Linked DNA regions of Homo sapiens: regions 1 and 3 are each linked to region 2. Evidence: promoter capture Hi-C in human tissues and cell types (Jung and others, 2019). All regions are on one chromosome and are shown on one strand. The core of a region is centred on a gene start or on the middle of the fragment in contact, and the rest is flanking DNA. Distances in the headings are between cores, read along the strand shown.

What was found. Contacts are between HindIII fragments. The study calls those that stand out against the background at their distance.
Region 1: a fragment that was not itself captured here is called in contact with the fragment with the promoter of TMEM248 in region 2 in 1 of the 25 tissues and cell types used here (spleen).
Region 3: a contact is called between a fragment that was not itself captured here and the fragment with the promoter of TMEM248 in region 2, in 1 of the 25 tissues and cell types used here (spleen).

What each region holds. Positions count from the first base shown.
Region 1 is chr7:66,533,481-66,537,550 of GRCh38, forward strand. It overlaps the pseudogene LOC100420547 and the pseudogene RABGEF1P1. Among named protein-coding and RNA genes, the nearest start is that of LINC03011, 42 kb to the left of the region's middle. The HindIII fragment of the contact is 8,360 bases long and covers 1-4,070 here.
Region 2 is chr7:66,919,457-66,923,188 of GRCh38, forward strand. It overlaps TMEM248 (transmembrane protein 248), which reads left to right and starts at 1,769. Exons shown (of 7, transcript NM_017994.5): 1 at 1,769-2,005. RefSeq lists a silencer at 1,811-2,060. The HindIII fragment of the contact is 13,933 bases long and covers 1-3,732 here.
Region 3 is chr7:67,314,375-67,318,454 of GRCh38, forward strand. It overlaps the pseudogene STAG3L4. Among named protein-coding and RNA genes, the nearest start is that of LINC01372, 20 kb to the right of the region's middle. The HindIII fragment of the contact is 8,480 bases long and covers 1-4,080 here.

The sequences.
Region 1 (4,070 bases), core at 506-3,005, 390 kb before region 2:
AAAATTATTTCATTTTGCTTATAATTTTACTTTTTTTTTTTTTTTTGAGATGGAGTCTCGCTCTGTCACCCAGGCTGAAGTTGTGTGATCTCAGCTCACTGCAACCTCCACCTCCGGGGTTCAAGTGATTCTCTGGCCTCAGCCTCCCAAGCAGCTGGGACTATAGGCGCCTGCCACCATGCCCAGCTTATTTTTTGTATTTTTAGTAAAGACAGGGTTTCACCGTGTTAGCCAGGATGGTCTCCATCTCCTGAACTCATGATCCACCTGCCTCGGCCTCCCAAAATGCTGGGATTACAGGCGTGAGCCACCGCGCCCAGCCTATAATTTTACTTTTATAACAAAGGCATGTTACTGAATAGAATCTGGGTCTTGCTGTTTACCACTTAGCTCTGGTTGACATAATGTCAAAGTGTGTAGCTGTAGCCTCTTAGTTCTCATGGCTCTATAATCTTCCATTGAGTGGAATTTTACCATGATGCAATTCCTCACTCTCCTCTCCTTGGGGATTGGGCTGCTTCCATTGTTTTGCTGTTACTAAGAATGCAATTAACACTTATAGCCGGGCGTGACGGCTCATGCCTGTAAACCCAGCACTGTGGGAGGCCGCAACCGGAGGATCCCTTGAGCTCAGGAATTTGAGACCGGCCTGGGCAACATGGCAAGACCCCATCTCTACTAAAAACACAAAAAAATTAGCCAGGCATGGTGGCACGCTTGCTACTCAGGAGGCAGAGGTCGCAGTGAGCTGAGATCATGCCACTGCACTCCAGCCTGGGCAACAGAGCGAGATCCTGTCTCAGAAAAAAAAAAAAAAAAAAAAAAGCAACGGAAGAGAAGCATAGATCCATTAAAAAGTTTAAGGCCCAGCCTGGTGGCTTACGCCTGTAATCCCAACACTTTGGGAGGCCGAGGGGGAAGGACTGCTTGAGGCCAGGAGTTTGAGATCAACCTGGGCAATGTAGCAAGATCCTGTCTCTACAAAAATTTTAGAATTAGCCAGACGTGGTGGTGTGCACCGGTAGGCCCACATACTCAGGAGACTGAGGCAGGAGGATGAGGTCAAGGCTTCAGTGAGCTAGGATCGCACCACTCCATGGGTGACAAAATGAGTCTACATCTCTAAAAACATAATTTTTGAAAAGCAGAGGAAGAAGGCCGGGTGCAGTGGTTCACGCCTATAATCCCAACACTTTGGGAGGCCGAGGTGGGTGGATTGCTTGAACCCAGGAGTTCAAGACCAGCCTGGGCAACATGGTGAAAACCCATCTCTACTAAAAATAGAAAAATTAGCCAGGCATGGTGGTGCACGCCTGTAATCCCAGCTACTCGGGAGGCTGAGGCAGGAGAACCACTTGAACCCGGGAGGCAGAGGTTGCAGTGAACTGAGATAGTGCCACTGCACTCCAGCCTGGGCAACAGTGAGAGTCCATCTGAAAAAAAATAAAATAAAATGCAGAGGAAGAGAAGTGGAGATTCCCCCATTCCAGCAGCCTCCTTCCCACCCACACTGGAGTTTTGGATTTGGGGGTTTGATGGCTCTGGCATGTCTAGGCCCTAGAGGGGTTCAGAAGGAGGGGTCTTGGGGACACAGAGAGTACTTCAACAATCCCACTTTAAGACAGTTCCCTTTGGGCCGGGCACAGTGGCTCACACCTGTAATCCTAGCACTTTGGGAGGCCGAGGCGGGCAGATCAACTGAGGTCAGGAGTTCGAGACCAGCCCAGCCAACATGGTGAAACCCCGTCTCTACTAAAAATACAAAAATTAGCTGAGTGTGGTGGCTTGTGCCTGTAGTCTCAGCTACTCGAGGGGCTAAGGCAAGAGAATTGCTGGAACCTGGGAGGTGGAGATTGCAGTGAGCCCAGATCATGCCGCTGCACTCCACCCTAAGCGACAGAGCGAGACTCCATCTCAAGAAAAAAAAGACAGTTCCCTTTGTAAAATGGGTCAAGGCTTAAGGGCCCCTCCTGCACGCAGTGTCCAGGCTCAGCCAGGTCTGATGGCAGAAGCAACACAGACTCATGATCATTGGCCTGGGCACAGGTCTCTGCCACGGGCACAGGTCTCTGCCCCACTGCAGCTTGGCCCTCCTCTCTCCAGGCCTCAGTTACCTCATCCATGAAATGGAGCTGAAGGAATTCCTGCTAAACCTGTGCACAGGCCCTACAAGCAGTTAAATGCTGAACCTGAATGTACCTTTTTTATTTTTTCAAGACTGAGTCTCACTCTGTCACCCAGGCTGGAAAGCAGTGGTGCAATCGCTGCAGCCATGAACTCTGCCCCGGCCTGGCAGTGAGTTGGGGCTCTGTGAAATGGTTCAGGAGGGGAGAGGAAGGCTATTATCCCACGCTTCTGCTACAGATCGCAGTCTCTCCCCTCTAAACCGCCCTTGCCCTTCGCTGGCTGCGTCTCCCTGCTGTGAATGGTCGTAATTACCAATACGAGATCGTCAGTCTGAGCTAAAGACCTCTAACTAGGCAGGGAGAGGCCAAGGCTGGCCAAGGCTCTTGCACTTTGCCCCAGGAGAGAGCCACAGAGCCAGCCCAGGCATCACCCCAGCCAGTTGGTTTAAAATTGTGTACATAGCATGGCTGTGATTCAGTGAGCTTGGTTGTCTTTTTTTTCCCCCTTCGCAAAATTCAGTTACTCCTTGGGCTAACAGACAGCAGGTTGGAAAAGATAAGCTGAGAGTTGCCCAGGCAGTGTTAAAGAGAGAGGAGACCGAAGAACAGCATGAGCAGGAAGGGGCAGGAGAAATGTCAAGGGAAGGCCTGTCCACCAAAGGCGTCACTGTCCAGGGGCAGTGGGCAGGAGGTCACTGCTGCAGGGATGGGTTCTTTCAGCAGGACTTTCTGCACAGCACTAGGGGCAGACCATGAGGTGAACCCCCACACACACTGAGTCCTAACTATGACATTTCCAAACAGAACACTCTGAAATGTTTGCAGCCGTGGGTGTCATTTACAGCCAGCCTGGGTTCAGGAAAGCTCAGGCAGGTGCCCCCAAGAATAGGTTTGCTGACTTGGCATTCAGGACAGTAAACTAAACCCACTCCCCTGACCCCCCTTTTTTTTTTTTTGAGATGGAGTTTTGCTCTTGTTGCCCAGGCTGGAGCACAGTGGTGCAATCTCGGCTCACTGCAACCTCCGCCTCCCAGGTCCAAGCGATTCTCCTGCCTCAGCCTCCCAAGTAGCTGGGATTACAGGCACCCGCCACCACGCCCAGCTAATTTTTTTGTATTATTAGTAGAGATGAGGTTTCACCATGTTGGCCAGTCTGGTCTTAAACTCCTGACCTCTGGTGATATGCCCACTTCAGCCCCACAAAGTGCTGGGATGACAGGCGTGAGCCACTGCACGCCTGCCCATTGCTGCTCTACAGATGAGGACATAGAGTGGTTCAGGGACTTGCCCAGGGTCGCGAGCTGATAGCAGAGCTGGGATTTGAACCCAGGCAATCAGTCTTGGGTAGACCATTGGGCTTGTGGCCCTGGCCTTGCAGGGCCTGGTATTGCGCCTGCCCCTGCAGTGTTCTCAGCAGCTCTCTGAGGCGGTTCTCTGATCCGTGTTTTTCCCGTGAGCAGATTAGACTCAGAGGTGACCAGGCATGCTGGAGCTGCCCTGCCCCACCCGAGGCTGAGGCCACCACTGCCCACAGCAGTCCTTGGGGAGCTCCCTGATGGTGACAAGATGAGGGTGGCAGGAGCCTGGCTCTGTCAGGAAAGGGGACTCATGACCCACCTGCAGCTCTCTGAGGTGCTCAGCTGGTCTGGGCATGGTGGCTCATGCCTGTACCTCAGCACTTTGGGAAGCCAAGATGGGTGGATTGCTTGAGCTTAGGAGTTGAAGATCAGCCTGGGCAACATAGTGAGACCTTGTCTCTACAAATAATACAAAAATAAGCCAGGTAGTGGCACACACCTGTAGCACCAGCTTACTCGGGAGACTGAGGATGGAGGATGGCTTCAGTCCAGGAGGCGGAGGTTACAGTGAGCTGAGATTGCTCCACTGCACTCCAGCCTGGGCAACAGAGCCAGACCATCTCAATTAACAAACAAACAAACAAAA
Region 2 (3,732 bases), core at 519-3,018:
GAAGTTTGGTTCCATCATTATATACACAATTCAATACTGCCTGCACTTGCAGATAATGTCACACCCATTACAACAAGGAAGATAATTCAAATGGTGCAAGATAACAAAAGAGGGCAAGAATCATGGAAATAAGAGGGTATTCAGTGAAGGAACTGAGCCATTGTGTTGAACATTACAGGCTTCACCTGATAAACTTTTGTTAAAGATGGCTGGGTGTGGTGGCTCATGCCTGTAATCCCAGCACTTTGGGAGGTGGAAGTGAGCGGATCACTTGAGCCCAGGAGTTTGAGACCAGCCTGAGCAATTTGGGGGAAACCCCATTTCTGTGAAAAATATGAAAATTAGCTGGGCACGATGGTGCACATCTGTGGTCCCAGCTACTCAGGAGGCTGAGACAGGAGGATCACTTCAGCTTGGGAGGCCGAGTCTGCAGTGAGCCATGATCATGCGACTGCACTCCAGCTTGGGTGACAGAGCAAGACCTTGTCTCAAAAGCAAGAACAACAAAACTTTATTACCTTTAAAGCACCCTGTACTCCTCCCCCATCCCATTCCCCTAACACTTAACATGAAGTTTATACATCTTTTTCTCATGCTTCATGTCAGTTCAAACAATTATGTATGCATCTCTAAACAATATGTTATGAACTTGCCTGTTTTGAATTTTACATAATGGAAATATGTAGCAGTGTACCATTTTGTGATTTGGTCCCTGCCAATATAGTCTGCAATTGACTACCATAATTGTGTGAGCTGTATTAAATAATTTTCACTGGTCTTTTGTACCCGATTAAACACGAAGATGGGCCAGGCGTGGCAGCTCACACCTGTAATCCCAGATCCTCCCGAGGTGGGAGGATCACTTGGGTCCAGTAGTTCGAGACCAGCTTGAGTAACATAGGGAGACCCTGTCTCTACAAAAACAAACCAAACCATGAATATATCAAAGTTGGTTTTTACATTTGACTGTATGGACATCTGCTTTTTCTCCCCAATTTTTAGTGAGTCATACTGCTGCTAAAAACATTGGTGTTGCTATGAGCATTATTTTGTCTACTTGTGCATAGGTGCAACTGTTTCTCCAGGGTAATATATTCTCAAGAGAGGATGTGTATATCTTTAAGTGTACTGCATAATGCCAAATTACTTTGCAAAGTGATTGTACAAAATTATACTTTAAAAATTTTCATTTTCATTTTATTTTATTTATAAATAGAGTCAGAGACTCCCTATGTTACCCAGGCTGGTCTGGAACTCCAGGACTCAAGCGATCCTCCTGCCTTGGCCTCCCAAAGTGCTGAGATTACAGGCCTGAGCCACCGCGCCTGGTCCAAAATTACATGTTTATCAGCAGTGATTAATATACAAGCACATCAACAGACACACGCATAGCACACACATGAGCATGCACACGTGTGCGCACTCCCTACACATCTACGCATGCACACACCCATACCATCACACACCACACACGCGCACACAGATGCACATACATGCACTCACTGCACACACCGTTGTACACGATGCACACTACAAGCCACATACACGCACTACGCACACACGCACACGCACAACACCAGACCGGCACACAGACCCATAAACGTCCATCACGCACTCCACGCACGTCCGCATGCACGCTACCCGTCCCGGAAGCGTGGTCTCCGCCGCCTGCCTCTGACGAAGCTTGTCCCGGCCGCGCCACCGTCGGACGCCCGGGGTCGGAGGTCACGGCGGCGTTGGAGGTGGCGTGGTTTTTTTTTTTTTTTTCACCCGGAAACCGCGGTTGCCGGAGCCCGAACTGAGGCGGCGGCGGGAGCCCGGTTGGCGTCTGGTCTTCGCGTCGGCCCCGCGGAGCCAGACGCTGCCCCCGGCGCGGGGAGAAGATGGTGCCTAGCGGCCTCGGGCCCGCCACGCGCCGCCACGAGTGAGCCCAGCGCGACCGCGGGCGTCCGCCGAGCAGCTGGCCCGGCTGGGCCCGGGGCGCGCAGCTGCCCGCCGGGGCGGGGTGAGCCGGGGCTGGAGGGCGGGCTGGGGTCGGGCCCAGTCGGGGCTGCCCGCGGGGCCGGGAGCGGGGAGCGTGCTGGTCGGGAGCGGCTCCTCCGCCGGCTTTTTTCACCGCTTCTCAGGGTGCAGACCCCGCCCCAACTGCTGGCGGGGGTCGCCCAGCATCGGCCGACCTCGGCCTGGTCCCCCCACACTGGGGTTTGCCCACTCGCGTCCCCCGAGCCAGGGTTCCCTGCCGGCCTTGGAGATGGCGGGACTTCCCACGTCTGGAGCCGAGGCCTGGATAATTCGGATTTGGCACGGGAAACATCTTGGTCGTTTGCCATTTTTCGGCTTTGGGGAGTGTTTGCGTTTCTTCTCCGTTTGGCAGTGAAACACATCTCAGAAAGGTGGGAGGGAGAGACTCACGTACGTCCACAAAGTTAAATGGCATAGTGGTGTTCCCTGTGTCAAGCTTGGTAAATATCCGGAATGGGGTGGATTCTTTCTTCATGTTTTTAATAAAATGAGGAGTGATCGCAAGGTAATCTAGAGGCATGTAGTTTCAGTTCCCTTGATGGGGACCATCAGAAATAAAACCAGGCTTGTTGTGCTGTTTTGAGTCGTTTGAACGCCGTACCCATCGGACAGCTGGTGAGGAGGCCTTTGTGGAAGAATCTGATGTCTGAGTTTAGTTCTCAACTAGCAGGTGACAGCCCTCACTGGCTGATGAATGGTGAGCTTCTCTGAAGCCTGCTTTGTAAAGATTGTGGCTTCCGCCTGAACTGCTTCTTTCCTGCCTCAAAGGTGAGCCGCTACGGGAGGGAATGGGAAGAAAAACTCCGAGACTGCTGATGAATATGTGATAAAGTGGTTTGTCTCGATAGCACCATCAGCTTGGGTCAGCTTAGGGTCTCAGCATGTGTATCTCATTTGTAGATGAGTGTTCCATCAGCGCTTGACCGATAAGGGTGTCCATCTACTTCCTCTTTTCATCTAGGGATTCTGACAGGAAATAGACCTGTCGCGCACCTAAGGTATACTTAGGTGTGCATTGACCCTAAGTGCATTTACTCTCTAGGATTAAGGATTTGGAGTTTCAACTTGTAGTGAAGATTCTGGGAGAATTCCTGTGGCCTGAATCAGGTGGACTGGAATCACTGCTAGCACCGGAGTCTCAATGCTAAAATCACCAAAGGCTAGTTAACTGGCACCTTCTCCGTTTAGGCTCTAGCTGCATCTGTGGCAAGGAGGAAAGGTAGATTATATATATATATGTTTTTGAGACAGAGTCTCACTCTTGTCGCCCAGGCTGGAGTGCAGTGGTGCGATCTCTGCTCACTGCAACCTCTGCCTCCCAGGTCCAAGCAATCCTCCTGCCTCAGCCTCCCTAGTAGCTGGGATTACAGGTGCCCGCCACCATGCCCAGCTAATTTTTGTATTTTTAGTAGAGACAAGGTTTCACCATGTTGGCCAGGCTGGTCTTGAACTCCTGACCTCAGGTGATCCATCCTCCTCGGCCTCCCAAAGTTCTGGAATTATAGGCGTGAACCACCCGCACCTGGCATAAGTGCGAATATATTAATAGTTTCTGCCTGTAAGGAATGTACTTAGAGGAAGCAATAGGCTAGAAAATGTGGCAGGACTGAATTGCCATAGTGGTATACCAACTGTTCAGGATTTTGTTATGGTTAGGATCAGAAACTAACTTTTTTTTTTTTCTTGAGGCGGAGTCTTGCTCTGTTGCCT
Region 3 (4,080 bases), core at 643-3,142, 400 kb after region 2:
GCCAGGCTGGTCTCAAACTGACCTCAAGTGATTTGCCACCTCGGCCACCTAAAGTGCTGAGAATATAGGTATGAGCCACCACGCCTGGCCTCTAAGCTTAATCATTTCTAGCTTTTGATTTAAAATGAGAAACATATGACTCTTCCTTTCATTTGGATACTTAAGAGGGTTATTAATTGACCTAATTACAATACTTTTATGTCTCAAGGAATGAATAGGGAGGCCTGAGGAGAGAGACAGAGACAGGGAAGCTTGTTGGTAGGGTAGTCAGAACACAGACAACATTTGTTAAGTTTGCCATCTTATATGGGCATGGTTCGTGGTACCCCAAAACAGTTATAGTAGTAACATCAGGCTGGGTGTGATGGCCCATGCCTGTAATCCCAGCATTTTGGGAGGCCAAGGCGGGTGGAGACCTTGAGGTCAGGACTTCAAGACCAGACTGGGCAACATGGCAAAACCCCTTCTCTACAAAAAAATACAAAAATTACTGGGGCATGGTGATGCATGCCTGTAGTTGCAGCTACTTGGGAGGCTGAGGTGGGGGGGATCACTTGAGCCCAGGAGGTTGAGGCTGCAGTAAGCCGTGTTTGCACCATTGCACTCCAGCCTGGGTGACAGAATGAGAACCTGCCTCTGACAAAAAAAAAAAAAAAAAAAAAAAGTTATTTTTCTCCACTAAGACTTGGAATGGTTTGCTGGGTAGCAATGGATATAGCTGACACATCCCCACATCCCTCACCTTCTCTCACTATGTGGGGTGTACCCAGTCTCTGGCTTCTAATGTCGAGGGCCTCCAACTTGACACTTCTAGCTCAGAGTATGTTCTTAAGGCCTTGCCTCACTTATAGAACTTCCTAGTGGTTAGCTATGATGCATGGCAAACACATCTGACAACAGTAACATCAGCATACCTTGAAAATGACCCCATGGTCTTAAGAAGAGTATGTGTTGAAAATTCTAAGCTAAGGAATCCAGGAGTGGCCAACCCAGAGATTCATTTCTTATCTGTGAGGAACATCTGAACCCCTGGACCATCTAGGGGATGGTGGCCTTTGTTTGGGGTTCAGTGAAGGTTTGCCAGAGGGAGGGTGCTAGGGGGAGGGTGCTAAGTGGAAATGCTCTATAAACTGCATGCTTTTTTTTTTTTTTTTTTTTTGAGACAGAGTCTTGCTCTGTCACCCAGGCTGGAGTGCAGTGGCACAATCTCGGCTCACTGCAAGCTCTGCCGCCTGGGTTCACACCATTCTCCTGCCTCAGCCTCCCGAGTAGCTGGGACTACAGGCACCTCCCACCACGCCTGGCTAATTTTTTGTATTTTTAGTAGAGATGACGGGGTTTCACCATGTTAGCCAGGATGGTCTCAATCTGACCTTGTGATCCGCCCACCTTGGCCTCCCAAAGTGCTGGGATTACAGGCGTGAGCCACCACGCCCGGCCCAACTGCATGCTTTTTGTAAGCAGGTGTGATTCTCCTGTTCCACCTGCCATGTCTGGACTACCCTGTAAGTCCCCTTAATAAACCCTATGTCTTGCCTGCTGGCCAGGCATGATGGCTCATGCCTGTAATCCAAGGACTTTGGGAGGCCAAGACAGGCAGATCACTTGAGGTCAGGAGCTTGAGACCAGCCTGGCCAACATGGTGAAAACTCCATCTCTACTAAAAATACAAAAAAAAAATTAGCTGGGTGTTGTGGCATGCACCAATAATCCCAGCTACTTAGGGGGCTGAGGTAGAAGAATCTCGAACCGGGGAAGCAGAGGTTGCAGTGAGCCGAGATCACGCCATTGCACTCCAGCCTGGGCAACTAGACTCTGTCTCAAAAGACAAACAAACAAACAAAAACAGACCAGGCACAGTGGCTCATGCCTGTAATTACAGCACTTAGGGAGGCAGAGGCAGGTGGATCGTCTGAGGTCAGAAATTTGAGACCAGCCTGGTCAACATCGTGAAACCCTGTCTGTACTAAAAATACAAAAATTAGCAGGGCATGGTAGTGAGCGACTGTAATCTCAGCTACTCGGGAGGCTGAGGCAGGAGAATTGCTTGAACCCGGGAGTTGGAGGTTGCAGTGAGCTGAGATTGAACCACTGACTCCAGCCTGGGCAGTAGAGTGAGACTCCATCTCGAAAAAACAAAACAAAACAAACACAACAGAAATGAGAAAACAAAACCCGGCCAGGTGCGGTGGCGCAACACCTGTAATCCCAGGACTTTGGAAGTCCGAGGCAGGTGGATCACGAGGTCAGGAGTTTGAGACCAGCCTGATCAACATGGTGAAACCCTAGCTCCACTAAAAATACAAAAAACAGCTGGGCATGGTGGCAGGCGCCTGTAATCCCAGCTACTCAGGAGGCTGAGGCAGGAGTATCGCTTGAACCTGGGAGGCAGAGGTTGCAGTGAGCTGAGATTGTACCACTGCACTCCAGCCTGGGTGACGGAGCAAGACTCCGTCTCAAAAAAAAAAAAAAAAAAGAAGAACAGAATGTTCTAGGCATTTTAAAAATACATTTTATTTATTTTAGTATGTATTCATTTATTTTTGAGATGAAGTCTGGCTCTCTTGCCCAGGTTGGAGTGCAGTGGCGAGATCTCGGCTCACTGCAACCTCTGCTTCCTGGGCTCAAAGCACCCTCCCACTTCAGCCTCCTGAGTAACTGGGACTACAGGTGCCTGCCACCATGCCTGGCTAACTTTTGTATTTTTTGTAGAGATGAGGTTTCGCAATGTTGCCTAGACTGGTCTCCAACTCCTGGGCTCAAGTGATTCTCCTGCCTTGGCCTCCCCAAATGCTGGGATTACCGGTGTACCCACCACACCTGGCCTCTGGGCAGATTTTTATGTTTTTATTTTTAATTTTTAATGGTTTTTTTTGGTATCTAAAATACCAAAATGCCATTCTGTCACCCAGGCTGGAGTGCAGTGGCATGATCTTGGCTCACTGCAACCTCCGCCTCTTCGTTTCAAGCAATTCTCCTGCCTCAGCCTCCTGACTACAGACACGTGCCACTGTACCTGGATAATTTTGTATTTTTAGGAGAGATGGAGTTTCACCATGTTGGCCAGGCTGGTCTCAAACTCTTGACTTCAAGTGATCTGCCTGCCTCGGCCTCCAAAACTGCAGGGTTTACAGGCCTGAGCCACTGTGCCCAGCCTAGGATTTCTTTGTCTTCTTCCAGTAAGTGTTAGTTCAAGCTCTCCTCTCCCCACTGTTGTTTCTTATCAAGGCCCTCAGCAATCTTCTAAAAACCATATTATAGATCTAAAATTGCTTTTCAATTCTGGAATTCAAAAAGGTCTGGAGGCTGGGCGAGGTGGCTCACTCTGGTAATCCCAGCAGTTTGGGAGGCTGAGGCAGGAGGAGGGCTGGAAGTCAGGTGTTCAAGACCAGCTTGAGCAACATAGCAAGATCCTTGTCTCTACATCTCTACAAACAAAAAATTAGCTGGGTGTGGTGGCATTCACATGTAGTTTCAGCTATTCAGGAGGCTGAGGCAGGAGGATTGTTTGAGCCCAGGAGTTCGAGGATGCAGTGAGTTATGATTGCACCACTGCACTCCAGCCTGGGTGACAGAGTGAGACTCTCTCTCTTAAAAAAAGAGGAGGCATGGGTGGGCATGGTGCTCACGCCTGTAATCCCAGCTCTTTGGGAGGCCGAGGTGGGCGGATCACTTGAGCTCAGGAGTCCAAGACCAGCCTGGCCAACATGGTAAAACCCCGTCTCTACTAAAAATACAAAAATTAGGCAGGCTTGGTGGTGGGCACCTGTAATCCCAGCTACTAGGGAGGCTGAGGCAGGGGGATAGCTTGAACCTGGGAGGTTGCAGTGAGCCGAGATGGTGCCTCTGCACTCCAGCCTGGGTGACAGAGTGAGACCCTGTCTCAAAATTAAATAAATAAATAAATGAAATAAAACTGTGGACCTCCGTACCATAGACTCTGCAGCCATGAAAAGTGAGGAAGCCTTCCTGCACCCACAGAGGCCAATCTCCAAGATATATCATTAGTGAGAAAAGTGAGGTGCTGAACAGTGTAAATGGCATACAGTTTGTGTAAAAATAATTATATGGCCAGGCACG